Regions from separate parts of the Homo sapiens genome. Here region 2 is linked to region 1. The links are contacts of gene promoters, found by promoter capture Hi-C in blood cells and fetal thymus (Javierre and others, 2016). All regions are on one chromosome and are shown on one strand. The core of a region is centred on a gene start or on the middle of the fragment in contact, and the rest is flanking DNA. Distances in the headings are between cores, read along the strand shown.

Region 1 (6,659 bases), core at 4,129-6,628:
CCCCCACCCAACAAAAACGAAAAACAAAAAAAAGGCCAAAAAAAAAAAAAAAAACAAAACCCAAAACTGTTAAATTGAATGTATTAAGTGCAATTTTTTTTTTTTTTGAGACAGGGCCTCTGTCACCTAGACTGGAGTGCAGTGGGAGCAATCATGGCTCACTGCAGCCTCAGCCTCCTAAATAGCTGGGACCACAGGCATGTGCCACTATGCCCAGCTAATTTATTTGTATTTTTATGTAGAGACAATGTTTTGCCATGTTGCCCAGGCTGGTCTTGAACTCCTGGACTCAAGTGATCCTCCCACCTCAGCCTCTCATAGTGCTGGGATTACAGGTGTGAACCACCACACCTGGCCTTGAATTTTACCATTAAAATGTTCTTTACATATGGTTTTTGGGGGAGAATATCTTCTCTGTTCTTAAGGAATGCATAATTTAGTTAAGGACATAAACTACTGTATATGGATATAAAACGACTCTAAAACAAATGAAACAAGTCGATGTTCCGTTTTCTTCTCGGTTGTCTGGGTCTTGCATGATCTGATCCTATTCTATTTTTATGCTACTGCCCATAGAGAACATTCTTCTGTAGTTAGGCAGATTTTATTTTATTTTATTTTGAGATAGAGTCTGGCTCTGTCGCCCAGGCTGGAGTGCAGTGGCGCCATTTCGGCTCACTGCAACCTCCACTTCCTGGGCTCAAGCGATTCTCGTGCCTCAGTCTCCTGAGTAGCTGGGATTACAGGCATGTACCCCCATGCCTGGTTAATTTTTGTATTTTTAGTAGAGAAAGGGTTCCGCTACGTTGGCCAGGCTGGTCTAGAACTCCTGGCTTCAAGGGATCCGCCCGCCTCGGCCTCCCAAAGTGCTGGGATTACAGGTGTGAGCCACCGTACCCAGCCATAGTTGATATTCTATAGGAGCCTTAGGGAGAGAACCCCTACACTATCCTGGCTTCACAACTGCAGAGGCCTCACAAGCAAGTGGATTCTCTGTGTCTGCTAGGCCTGGAATCGTTCTCTGCTTTGGTTGAGGCTGGAGACACAAGTCTCTGAGTTCCCCTCTTCCTCACTCCACAAAGTCCATTCCCCTTTCAGAGGAAGTATAAGGGAGTAATTTGTTTTCAGTTTCCTTACTTATGAGTATGTTGTAATCATGTGCCTTTTTTTTTACTTTTTTTTTGAGATGAAGTCTTGCTCTGTTGTCCAGGCTAGAGTGCAGTGGCTTGGTCTCCACTCACTGCAACCTCCACCTTCTGGGTTCAAGCAATTCTCCTACCTCAGCCTCCCGAGTAGCTGGGATTACAGGTGCCTGCCACCACGCCCAGCTAATTTTTGTATTTTTAGTAGAGACAGGGTTTCACCATTTTGGCCAGGCTAGTCCCGAACTCCTGACCTCATGATCCACCAGCCTCAGCTTCCCAAAGTGCTGGGATTACAGGCGTGAGCCACCATGCCCAGCCTCATGACTTCTTGAGATTATCTAGAGAGGGCATTATAATTCAGTGTTTCCAATCTCTGGAGTTAGATCTATGAAGGTCTGAATCTCTGCTCTTTGATCTTGGACAAGTTACTTGAGCCGTCTGCATTTCAGGATCCTTTTTTATAAAATGGGTTGAATAACATGGTCGTTTTGAGAATTAAATGATATAATATACAAATTTAGAGCAATACTTGGTATAGAATAAGGACACACACATACACATATGTATATACTATGTCAGTTAATTTATACACTCCAATTTTGTTACTACTGTCCGCTCTATGCTCAGCTGGTCTTGTGTTGTCTCTTTTTCTCCTCTTCTCAGCTAGATACATTATGTAGATGTGCTTATTTAACTGATTAACTTTAAAACATTTTCTGGACCAGGCATGGTGGCTGAAGCCTGTAATCCCAGCACTTTGGGAGGCCAAGGCAGGCAGATCACCTGAGGTCAGGATTTCGAGACCAGCCTGGCCAACATGGTGAAACCCCATCTCTACTAAAAATACAAAAATTAGCCGTGCATGGTGGAGCATGCCTATAATCTCAGCTACTCCAGAGGATGAGGCAGGAGAATTGCTTGAACCCGGGAGATGGAGGTTGCAAGGTTGCAGTGAGCTGATATCTCACCATTGCATTCCAGCCTGGGCGACAGAGCAAGACTCCATCTCAAAAAAAAAAAAAGAAAAAGAAAAAAAGAAAAAAAATTATGTTAACTATCCTACTATAGAAGTATCAGGAAGTATAAGACAAAACCATTCAGAATCACTACACTACATCCAGAGACTACCACTTTTAACATTTGGCTGTGTAATTTTCTGGGCTTTAAAAATAGTTTAAAAAATATACATGTGTACATAGTTTATTGTATATACATATAAAATAAACTTATATTGTTGCTGTTTTTCCTTTCTTTTTTTTGTTTTTAGTAGAGATGGGATCTTACTCTGTTGGCTAGGCTGGTCTCGAACTCCTGGCCTCAAGTGATCCACCCATCTCAGCTTCCCAAAGTGCTGGGATTACAGGCATGAGCCACCATGCCCAGCATGTGTTTTTCTTGAACACCTCTACCTCTACCACACTATAAACCCCATCAGGGGATAAATCTTATGGTTTTGCTTACCATGTTATCCCAAGTATGATTTATTTTAGCACATGGCTCATAGCAGGTACCAATAACAAAACAAAACAGAAACAAAACAAAACAAAAACCCAAACATGGGTTTTTTAATTTTAGCACATGGTTCATAGCAGGTACCGATAACAAAACAGAAAACAAAACAAAAACCCAAACATACAACAACAAACAAAAATGAGAAGGAATGAATGACTGCATGTTAATAAACACAAATCGTTAATCACAACATTCTTCCATGTGAGCGTGTCAGCTTTCCCAACCAAGCCCCTATCTTGGAAACTTGTTTCCAATTTGTCTGTATTCATATATATATATAAAATTTAAAATTTTTAATGTTTTTTAAAAAAGGCACAAAGAATAGTATAGCACACATTATTGAACCCAACCTCCCAGAACCAACAACTTTTAAGATTTTGAGTTTTATTTCCGTTTTTTAAATAAAAGAAAGCATTGTAAAGTTGAAGTCTTCATTTTTTTTCTCTGCTCAATTTCCCTCCTTCCCTCTAATATAAACAACAGCTGTCATGAATTTGGTGTGTGTGATATTGCATTCTATGTCTATACTTATATAAAGTATGTGATCATTTTAGGTTCTGTGGGATTTTGATTATTTATAAATATGGTATCACAGTGTATATATATAGTTCTGCAACTTGCTTTTTTTCACTCCACAGTGCTTTTGAATTCTTTCTACCATCATTTATCCTTTACAACTACAGAGCTAGTTCATTAACTTAGCTACTGTGTATATTCCATCATTTGGATATCTACCTTTCATTTTCCTACCCCTTGACTGGACATTTGGGGTTTTTCTCAATTTTTCACTACTGCAAACAATGCTGAAATGATCATTGTAACTGCAACATTTTTATTAGGTATTTTATGCACAAATTTTAAGGTCCATTAAATCTATTTTATAATATTTTTCATTCCACAAGTGTTTTAAAAATTATTTTTACATCTTTGAAGGCAGAGCAGGAGCAGGATCTTTAAACACACAACAAAAAAAGATTAGCAGCCATGTGGCTTGGGGTTGGGGTGGAGAAAGTATAGTCAGCTTAAGAGTGAAAAGAAGGCCAAGCATGGTGGTGTGCGCCTGTGTTCCCAGCTACCCTAGAGGCTGAGGCAGGAGGATGGCTTGAGCTCAGGAGTTCAAGGCTGATGTGGGCTGCAGTAAGTTATGATTGTGCCACTGCACTCCAGCGTGGGCAATGGAGTGAGACTCTGTCTCTAAGAAAAAAAGGAAAAAATGTGGAAAAGTACATAGGTAATGCCAGTAGGGCTCAATTGCAGAATATTGGCTGGAGACTTATTTTGCTCCCAGTACTGTGCAAGATATCTGGGTAGCATACAGGATACTATCGAAAAATTAAATTGAATTCTAAGCTGCACGATGATGGTTTCTTTTTTTTTTTTTTGCACACTTCTGCTGGCAGGAAGGGATTACGGTTTGATTATCAGAGCCCAAAGAAGAGAGAAAACAGAGATCTGAGAAGATTCCCTGGAAGAGCTGAGGCCTTAAGAGATTGAAAGAGAGGGAGGGGAGGAGGATGAACCAGGGACTGAAGGCTGGGTGAGACTGTCAAAATAGTGCACAGATAATGACCTTTACTACTGTTTCCCATGAGAGTAAAATTTAAAAATTTCACAAGAGTTTGTCAATTAAAGAGGAAATCGAGTTGACTTTAAACACTATATTGACCCTCAGCATCACTTGCCACAGATATAGGTGGTAGGAAGTATGATGTTAGGAGAGCCAGAAGTAGACTGAGGATTTGGCTTCCAGTCTATTATTTCTACTGTGAATCTTTGCACCATCCCTGCTTCTGTCCCTGTACCAGATCCACAGTCCTCAAATGGATAGTGAAGCTGTTCAAAACCCACGACCTCACTTGCTGGTATATACGGTACTATACTATTCCCTACACCATAAAATACTTCTCAGAAAGAAAATATACATGGGGAGGGGAGGTTGATTAAATTAAATCAGGTTAAATTTGGGTGTGCATCAGACGTTCTTTTTTTTTTTTTTTTGAGACGGAGTTTTGCTCTTCTTGCCTAGGCTGGAGTGCAATGATGCGATCTCAGGTCACCGCAACCTCCGCCTCCCGGGTTCCAGTGATTCTCTTGCCTCAGCCTCCCGAAGAGCTGGGATTACAGGCATGAGCCACCACGCCTGGCTAATTTTGTATTTTTAATAGAGACGGGGGTTTCTCCAAGTTGGTCAGGCTGGTCTCGAACTCCCGACCTCAGGTGATCCACCCGCCTAGACCTCTCAAAGTGCTGGGATTACAGGCGTGAGCCACCGCTTCTGGCAAACGTCCTTCTTAATTGTTTGATTCCACTGTCCCAATAGCCGTCTGTCCTTTTCTGCCCCTATTTTTAGTGTCCAGCCACTAGTTGGTAACTTGGTGGCTCCTTCAGGCCTGCTAACTTTTTTTTTTCTTTCACCAAGACTGGTATGAGATACTTAAGAATAGTGGCTTTAACGACAGTTACCAACTTTTAATACAAATGCAGTCGAGAGGGCAAATACTCAAGTTTGGGGGCAGATAGCAGCCAGTCAAATAGGTCCGAGAGGCCCTGGCGAGCTACCGCAGGCCAGCAGGGAGGCCGTGGGCAGGTGGCGGTCGAGGCCGGAGGCAGGAAGCACGGCCGGGCGGGGCTGGGCGGAGCGGCCGCGGAGGAGCAGGGGCCGCAGGCGCCCCGCCCGGACTGGTATGCGGCCGAGAGTGACGCGGGAGGCGGGGTCACGTGACGCCCGTGGAATGCCAACAATGTAGCGAATGTCCCACTTGGGTCTGCGCTTTGGAACCGCGGCGTGAGCGCCCCGGGAAGATGGAGCAGTCGCCGTCCACGCCACCGCCGCCGCCCGGGGCTCCCCCGTCCCTGCGGGGCCAGCAGCAGCTCCAGCCACCAGTGCCCGGTCTCCCGGCGCGAGAGGCCCGGGAGCCGCCGGCCAGGACGCCCCCGAGGGTGTAGACCGCGCCCCTGGAGGTGAGGGGGCTGGGAGCTGGGGTCGGGGCGGCAGCTCGGAGGGTGGCGAGAGTTTCCGCGAAGCGGTCGAGCCCTGCGGCTCCGCGCACCTACTGTGGTGCCGAGGCTCCGGGAAGGGCGCCCGGCGGGGCGGCCGAGGAAGTTTGTCCGGACGGAGCCCTGCGCCCTGCCCCCACGGTCCGCGCCCGCCCGGAGCCGCCCCCGCCCGGCGGCTCGTAGTCCAGGCCGTACGGAGCCCGCGGAGCCGGTTCCAGAGGAGCCGGGGAAGTTGGAGGCCGGCGTCGGGCGGGGGCAGCGGGGCTGCGCCGCTTTGTTGTGCGGCGACCGGGGCGGCCGGGATCCCGGCGGGGCAGGGGCGGCGCGGGCCGGGGGCGGTGTCCTAGACCCGAAAGGCCGTAGCGCCGGGCGCGCCTCTGCTTCCGCTGTCTCCGGGGGATCGGCTTTTCACTAGACGCCCGGCCGGGCGCCCCTGACAGCCTCGGGACCCCCGGTCCGGCGGCGCAGCGGTCCCACGGATCCGGGGCCATCCTCCCGGCCGCGCCATCGTCCCACGGGCCAATCAGTCCTTCAGAGCCCGCCCTGTTGGCCCCCGCCGGCCGCCCCGTCGTCCCGCGAGCCGACGGACCCACGGCGGTGCCGCAGTCGAGGCCGCGCCGCCCCTCAGCCCCCGGTGGCTGCGCCGCCTCACCCACTGCCGCGCGGTTCCCACCCCGTTCCCCGCGGCCGCGCCGCCGGCTCACGGGCCAGTCAGCCCCTCAGAGGCCACCGGACCCTGGGGGCGCCGTTCCTCCCGGGCTGCGGGCGGCCAGGCCCTGCTCGGCGTCTCCCGGCCGGCTGCCGCGCCAACTCTGCGAGTTTGCTCACGGTCTTGGCGGGACGCGGCCCGAGGCGCAGGAGCGCTTTCGTGGCCACGCGAACGGCGGCCGTTGCATAACACGCCATTCCCGTGCCCTAGTTTAGCGACGTGTGGGGGGTTTGGCTTTCTCTTCTGATGTAAGCTCACCTGCGCTTAGCTCCCCAGCCGGACTCTGGAGATGGGGA
Region 2 (6,643 bases), core at 3,821-6,320, 440 kb before region 1:
AACGTTTCTGGGTTCTTGTTCAAAGAAGATATATTTTCATCTGATATCTTTTCAACGTGTCCCTTTCCTGGGAAGCCATTGATGACAGTTTGATCGAAGTACCATGTTGTTTTTGTAAGAAAGGAATGTTGAGTCATATCGACATGTATTATTGTCAAAAAGATTATGTTTTTAGATAGAGCTAAGCTTTTGATGCCAAGCCATTGATTACACTGATTAACTTTGGTATTTGAAAAATATTAGGAAGTAGTAATTATGATTAACATTCTAAAAGCAGTGTCCCACCTCAATTTTAAATTTATCTGATTATTGATAATTTTTCTGTATTGGAAAATAGTTTCCATGGAATTGTTATTTTCTATGGATGTATCAAAGCAACATTTGACATATTTTTTTAAGTCTTTAGGTTTATCAGAATGTAGGTTGCCAGGTATAACTTACACAAACAAGTTGAGTATAGAGAGTTACTGATGGAAGCCAGTGTTGGACTTAATCAGTTTCTCTGCATCCTTCCTCTCCCCACAATCCTTGCACAGCACTAATGCTTCATCCTGCTTACCATCAGGAGGCAGCCACTCAGTAGGTAATAGTGAAGGTACTTTGCAGACCCATTTACAATATTTAAGGTTGAATGCCACTAGTTACCTTACTAATTTTGTATTTTAACATTCAGATTTATGGAAAATTTACAAACAGAGATTCAAGAAATGGAATTCCTTCAGTTTTCTAAAGGTTTGAGTTTCATGAGAAAAGAAGACTTTGCAGAGTGGCTACTTTTTTTCACTAACACTGAAAATAAAGATATTTATTGGAAAAATGTGAGAGAGAAGTTGTCAGCAGGAGAGGTTGGTATACCCTTTTATTATGCATGTGATAAAGATGAAATAATAAGTTAGACATGTTTACATAAAGTAACTTCTGAATTAACCAAGACTGTGCTACCCTCGATGGTATATAAAATCAACTTGAGGAATGTTCTCTACATGCTCTTCTCCTGTAAAGGAAAACTGCCTAAGACAGAATCAGTGTAGCAATTACAAGTTTTCCATTTCCAGTAAAGTCAAGAATAAGACAAGTATCACTACTGTTATTTAATATCACTCTGTAAATCTTAACCAGTCCAAATTAACAAGATTATTTAAAAGAGTATAAAAATGTGAAAGGGGGTAGTAGTTGTCTTTGTTTTTATATGATGCAATTATATGCCTAGAGAACCCAAGAGAATCCAGTAGAAAAACCGTAGAAACAATAAGAATTCAATAAAGTACCTGTCACAATGCTAATATATAAGCAGCAGCAGCTCTCCTATATACAAATTACAAGTAGAAAATGTAATGACATGCATATGTGTGTGTATATATATACGAGATGTATGAAATGATGATTGCCAAGCTATTAATAATTATTCATGTACAGTGGTGAGGTTTCAAGTGATTTTTACTTTCTTTCTTTATACCTTTATGTATTGTTCCAAAAAAATGTTTACAATGGACATGTATTTTATGTAACTTTTTAAAAAGTTACTTCTATTGTAAGAAAAAAATAAATTGCAGTAGAAGAACCCAGTTATAACTGCAAGATAAATATATAACAATTAGAAATAAATTTAACAAAAAAAAAGAAGAAAACTTGATAGCCTTGATGGATATAAAAAGAAAACTTATCTAATTATAAGACATCCCCTATTATTGAATAGAAAGTCTTAGAATTATAAATACAGCAATTCTGTCTTCAGTTAGTCTATAAGTGTAATGGTTATATTAGAACAGCCCAAGTTTACTGCAGTTACAAATTAACCCTGAAATCCCCCTGTCTGACACTGAGTTTCTTGCTCAGTCATGCCGCAGTTCCATTGTGGGCTGATAGGAGTCTCTGTCCGCATAGAGGTCTAGACCCATTCAGAGGTCTAGACTCTCTGAGGCTGTGCCATCTTGGAGTTACATCATCTGAAAGAAGTACCACGCTCAGAGGCTGTGGCAGGAAAAGAAGGAGGGGAGTCAAAATCCAGCAACTAAATGTTTTGGCCTGGAAACATCACATGACACTTGGCTATTGGCCAGACTAATCACATAACCCCACCTGAATGCAGGGAGGCAAGGAACTTCAGTCTTTCGTACGTGCAGGAATCAGAAAAGATCCAGATACTGGTGAATACTCGTGGGTTTCAATAAAAATACCATTGAATTATTGGGAAGAAACTAGACAAGCTATAAAACTTTATATGATCACGCCTGTAATCCTGGCACTTTGGGAGGCCAAGGCGGGCAGATCATGAGGTCAGGAGATCAAGACCATCCTGGTTAACACGGTGAAACCACGTCTCTACTAAAAATACAAAAAATTAGCCAGGCATGGTGGCAGGTGCCTGTAGTCCCAGCTACTCGGGAGGCTGAGGCAGGAGAATAGTGTGAACCCTGGAGGCAGAGCTTTCAGTGAGCTGAGATTGCGCCACTGCACTCCAGCCTGGGTGACAGAGCAAGACTCTGTGTCAAAAAAAAAAAAGACTTTATATGAAAAGAATGTCAACATATTAAAATATATTATCAAACCTTGGTAACTAAAACAGTTTGTTACTGACAATGAATTTGACAGACTCCAGAAATAGACTTAAGCATATGAAAAATTTAGTAATTATGAAATAGTATTTTAAATTAGTTGGGTAAAAGAATTATTAATAAATGGCAGTAGGATAATTCACTGGCCATCTGAGGGAGAAAATGAACATAAATCTTTACACCATTCATTACTCTAAAATAAATTTAGGATGAATCAAAAAATTAAATGTTGAAAAAATGAAACTGAGTAAGTGTAGAAGAAAACATGGAAACAATGTTTCATCTTAGGTTATATACCTTTCTAAGCAAAACCCAAAACCTTTCAAAGAAAACTTGATGAAATACCTAAAAATTAAAATCTGTTGCCTCACCTCGTCCCCTGCAAAAATTATAATGAGAGTCAAAATAAAAAGTTAACATGAAGAAGGGGGAGATATTGATATGTAAAGACCAATTTTCTTAATTTATAATGGGATCTTTAAAAATCAGTAGGGATTGGCCGGGCGTGGTGGCTCATTCCTGTAATCCCAGCACTTTGGGAGGCCAAGGTGGGTGGCTCTCTCAAGGTCAGGAGTTCGAGACTAGCCGGGCCAACATGGTGAAACCCCATCTCTACCAAAAAATACAAAAAAAAGTAGCCGGGCATGGTGCCACACACCTGTAGTCCCAGCTACTCAGGAGGCTGAGGCGGGAGAATTGGATGAACCTGGGAGACAAAGGTTGCAGTGAGCCAAGGTCACACCTGGGCAACAGTGAGACTCTGTCTCAAAAAAAAAAAAAAAAAAAAAAAAAAAAAAATCAGTAGGTATCAAGAACTTTAAACGGTCTGAGATTTTTTTTTCCCTATTTAATATATCATGAGAACTTGAAAATCAACATGTGAATAACTGTAAAGTGTCTGAAATTTTATCCCTTTGCAGGTTAGCCTGCACAGTTTCATGGATGCTTGCAGAAGATACAAGACTATTGAGTCAGACACAAAGAATTTTATTATCGTAATGTAGCAACAACATGAGTAACATATTTGTGTCAGTTCCCCCTTGCCTCCCAAGCCCCATGGGCATGATGCTGAGAGGCCCAGGTAGATGCTGCCCACACAGCAGATTCACATCACAGCTGAGGACCCTCATCTTAGTGATCTGAATGTTTTGTAATGGGCAAGTAAACAAGCCTTCCTGAGCTTTGCTGCAGTGGGAGGCATTGTGTATTCATGATACTGGACAGTAAGCAAAGCTGTCCTGTGCTCCTGAGGAACAGTGCTGTCCGCTATACAAACAATTCTCCTGCCTCAGCCTCCTGAGTAGCTGGGATTACAGGCGCATACCACCATGCCTCGCAATTTTTGTATGTTTAGTAGAGATGGGTTTCACTGTGTTGTTGGCCAGGCTGGTCCCAAACTCTCGGCCTCCCAAAGTGCTGGGATTACAGGTGTGAAATCCTCGAAGATATAATCTGGAACAAAAATGCAGTCGGTGCCTCTGATAGATGTACAGAAACGTGAGACCCAGCTGGGCACGGTGGCTCAAACTTGTAATCCCAGCACTTTGGGAGGCCGAGGCGGGCAGATCATGAGGTCAGAAGATTGAGAACATCTTGGCTAACATGGTGAAACCCCATCTCTACTAAAAATACAAAAAATTAGACAGGCGTGGTGGCGGGTGCCTGTAGTCCCAGCTACTCGGGAGGCAGAGGCAGGAGAATTGGTGTGAACCCAGGAGGTGAAGTTTGCAGGGAGCCGAGATTGTGCTACTGCACTCCAGCCTGGGTGACAGAGCGAGACTCCATCTCAAAAAAAAAAAGAAATGTGAGACCCATGGAGAACGGTCTCGCACAGTAAGTTACCTAACAACCCATTAGAAATCTGGGCAAAGGACATAAACAGGACACAAGAAGAGAAATCCACAAATGACTAATAAGCATGTGAAAAATGTTTAACTTCATTCACAATTGAAGACATGCAAATTCAGGCCGGGCCTATGGCTCCCACCTGTAATTCCAGCACTTTGGGAGGCCGAGGCAGGTGGATCACCTGAGGCCGGGAGTTTGAGACCAGCCTGGTCAACATGGTGAAACCCCGTCTCTTCTAAAAATACAAAAATTAGCGGGGCGTGGTGGCGCATGCCTGTAATCACAGCTTTTCAGGAGGCTGAGGCAGAAGAATCGCTTGAATGAGGGAGGCGGAGGTTCTGGTGAGCCAAGATCACGCCACTGCACTCCAGACTGGGCAACACAGCAAGACTCCGTAAGACATGCAAATTCAAACATTAATAAAATACCATTTTTCATCTATCAGAAAAGCAGACATCAAAAAAGTTGCATCCAGTGCCTACTTCGAGGTCATGATAGAAGCAGCCACTCTTATTTGTGCTGATAAATACACTGGTTTTTTTTTTTCCTTTTTTCCCTCTCTATCATCTTGTAAATATACTGTTAAGAGAATAAAGCAAGGTACAGAAATATGTGAAGAGATTGTTCCCATTGTGTAAAACAAGGAGACGTGTGTGTACATGTATACACTTTAATAAGAATAGAATATTAGCCAGGCGCGGTGGCTCACGCCTGTAATCCCAGCACTTTGGGAGGCTGAGGTGGGTGAATCACCTGAGGTCAGGAGTTTGAGACCAGCCTGACCAATATGGTGAAACCCCATCTCTACTGAAAATACAAAAATTAGCCGGACGTGGTGGTGGGTGCCTGCAGTCCTAGCTACTCAGGCGGCTGAGACAGGAGAATTGCTTGAACCTGGGAAGCAGAGGTTGCAGTGAGCCAAGATTGCGCCATTGCGCTTCAGCCTGGGTGACAGAGCGAGACTGTCTCAAAAAAAAAAAAAAAAAAAAAAAAAAAAAGAATAGGATATTTCTGGATGGAGACACAAGGAATTGGTAACTCATGTCTGGGGAATGGAACTGGGAATCAGAGTGGAAGAACTCTTCATCATTTATCCTTCATGTTGTTTGAATTTTTAACCATGTGCACATATTACTTTTTCAAAAACTTTATTGAAATATTTAAAAATAAAAATTTCATGAAGTCACAAAAGCTGGAAACCAGTGAACCTTGAGTAAGACCACACATTACAGAGGGCATGATCCTCAGCATCCTACAAAGAGAAACTTTTTTTTTCAGGCAGGGAAGAATTTACTTTCAAATTAAGAATTTTTAGCTGGACACAATGGCTGACACTTGTAATCCCTGCACTTTCTGAGGCTAAGGTGGGAGGATCACTTGAGCCCAGGAGTTTGAAACCAGCCTGAGAAACATAGCGAGATCTCGTCTCTACTAAAAACAGAAATAAAAACATTAGTTGGGTGTGGTGCTCTGTGTCTGTAGTCCCAGCTACTTGGGAGACTGAGGCAGGAGGATAGCTTGAACCCAGAATTTCAAGGCTGCAGTGAGCTGTGATCTGGACTCCAGCCTGGGTCACAGAGTGAAACACTATCTCAAAAACAAGATAAAAACTAAGAGAATTTTCATACTTTGTTTACTTTTGTTTTGTTTGTTTGTTTTTGAGACAGGGTCTTGCTCTGTTGCCCAGGCTGAAGTGCAGTGGTGCAGTTAGCTCACTATAACCTCAAACTCCTGTGCTCAAGGGATCCTTCTGCCTAAGCCTCCTCAGTCGCTGGGACCACAGGCACATGCCACCGTGCCTGGCTAATTTTTGTATTTTTTGTAGAGATGGGGGTTTCACCATGTTGCCCAGTCTGGTCTCCAACTCCTGAGCTCAGGCAGTCCGGCCACCTCAGCCTTCCAAAGTGCTGTGATTGCAGTCAGGAACCACCGTACCCAGCTTTTATTGTTTTAATGGAAAAAACTGAGTTTTCTTTTAACTTTTTTATTTATTTGTTTGTTTTTACACAGAGTCTCACTCCATCACCCAGGCTGGAGTGCAGTGGCGCGATCTTGGCTCACTGTAGCCTCCGCCTCACGGGTTTAAACAATTCTCCTGCCTCAGCCTTCCAAATAGCTGGGACTACAGGTGTGCACCACCACACCCAGCTAATTTTTTTTTTTTTTTCTTTTTCACCATGTTGACCAGACTGGTCTTGAACTGCTGACCTCAGGTGATCTGCCTGCCTTGGCCTCCCAAA

The links. Contacts are between HindIII fragments. The CHiCAGO score rates a contact against its expected background, and 5 or more counts as called.
Region 2: a fragment that was not itself captured here is called in contact with the fragment with the promoter of LATS2 in region 1 in 1 of 17 cell types (total B cells); the score reaches 5.5 in total B cells.

What each region holds. Positions count from the first base shown.
Region 1 is chr13:21,060,305-21,066,963 of GRCh38, reverse strand. It overlaps LATS2 (large tumor suppressor kinase 2), which reads left to right and starts at 5,378. Exons shown (of 8, transcript NM_014572.3): 1 at 5,378-5,618. RefSeq lists silencers at 5,164-5,963, 6,104-6,513 and an enhancer at 6,019-6,659. The HindIII fragment of the contact is 13,546 bases long and covers 1-6,659 here.
Region 2 is chr13:21,497,128-21,503,770 of GRCh38, reverse strand. It overlaps MICU2 (mitochondrial calcium uptake 2), which reads left to right. Exons shown (of 12, transcript NM_152726.3): 9 at 674-845. Among named protein-coding and RNA genes, the nearest start is that of ZDHHC20, 41 kb to the right of the region's middle. The HindIII fragment of the contact is 9,764 bases long and covers 189-6,643 here.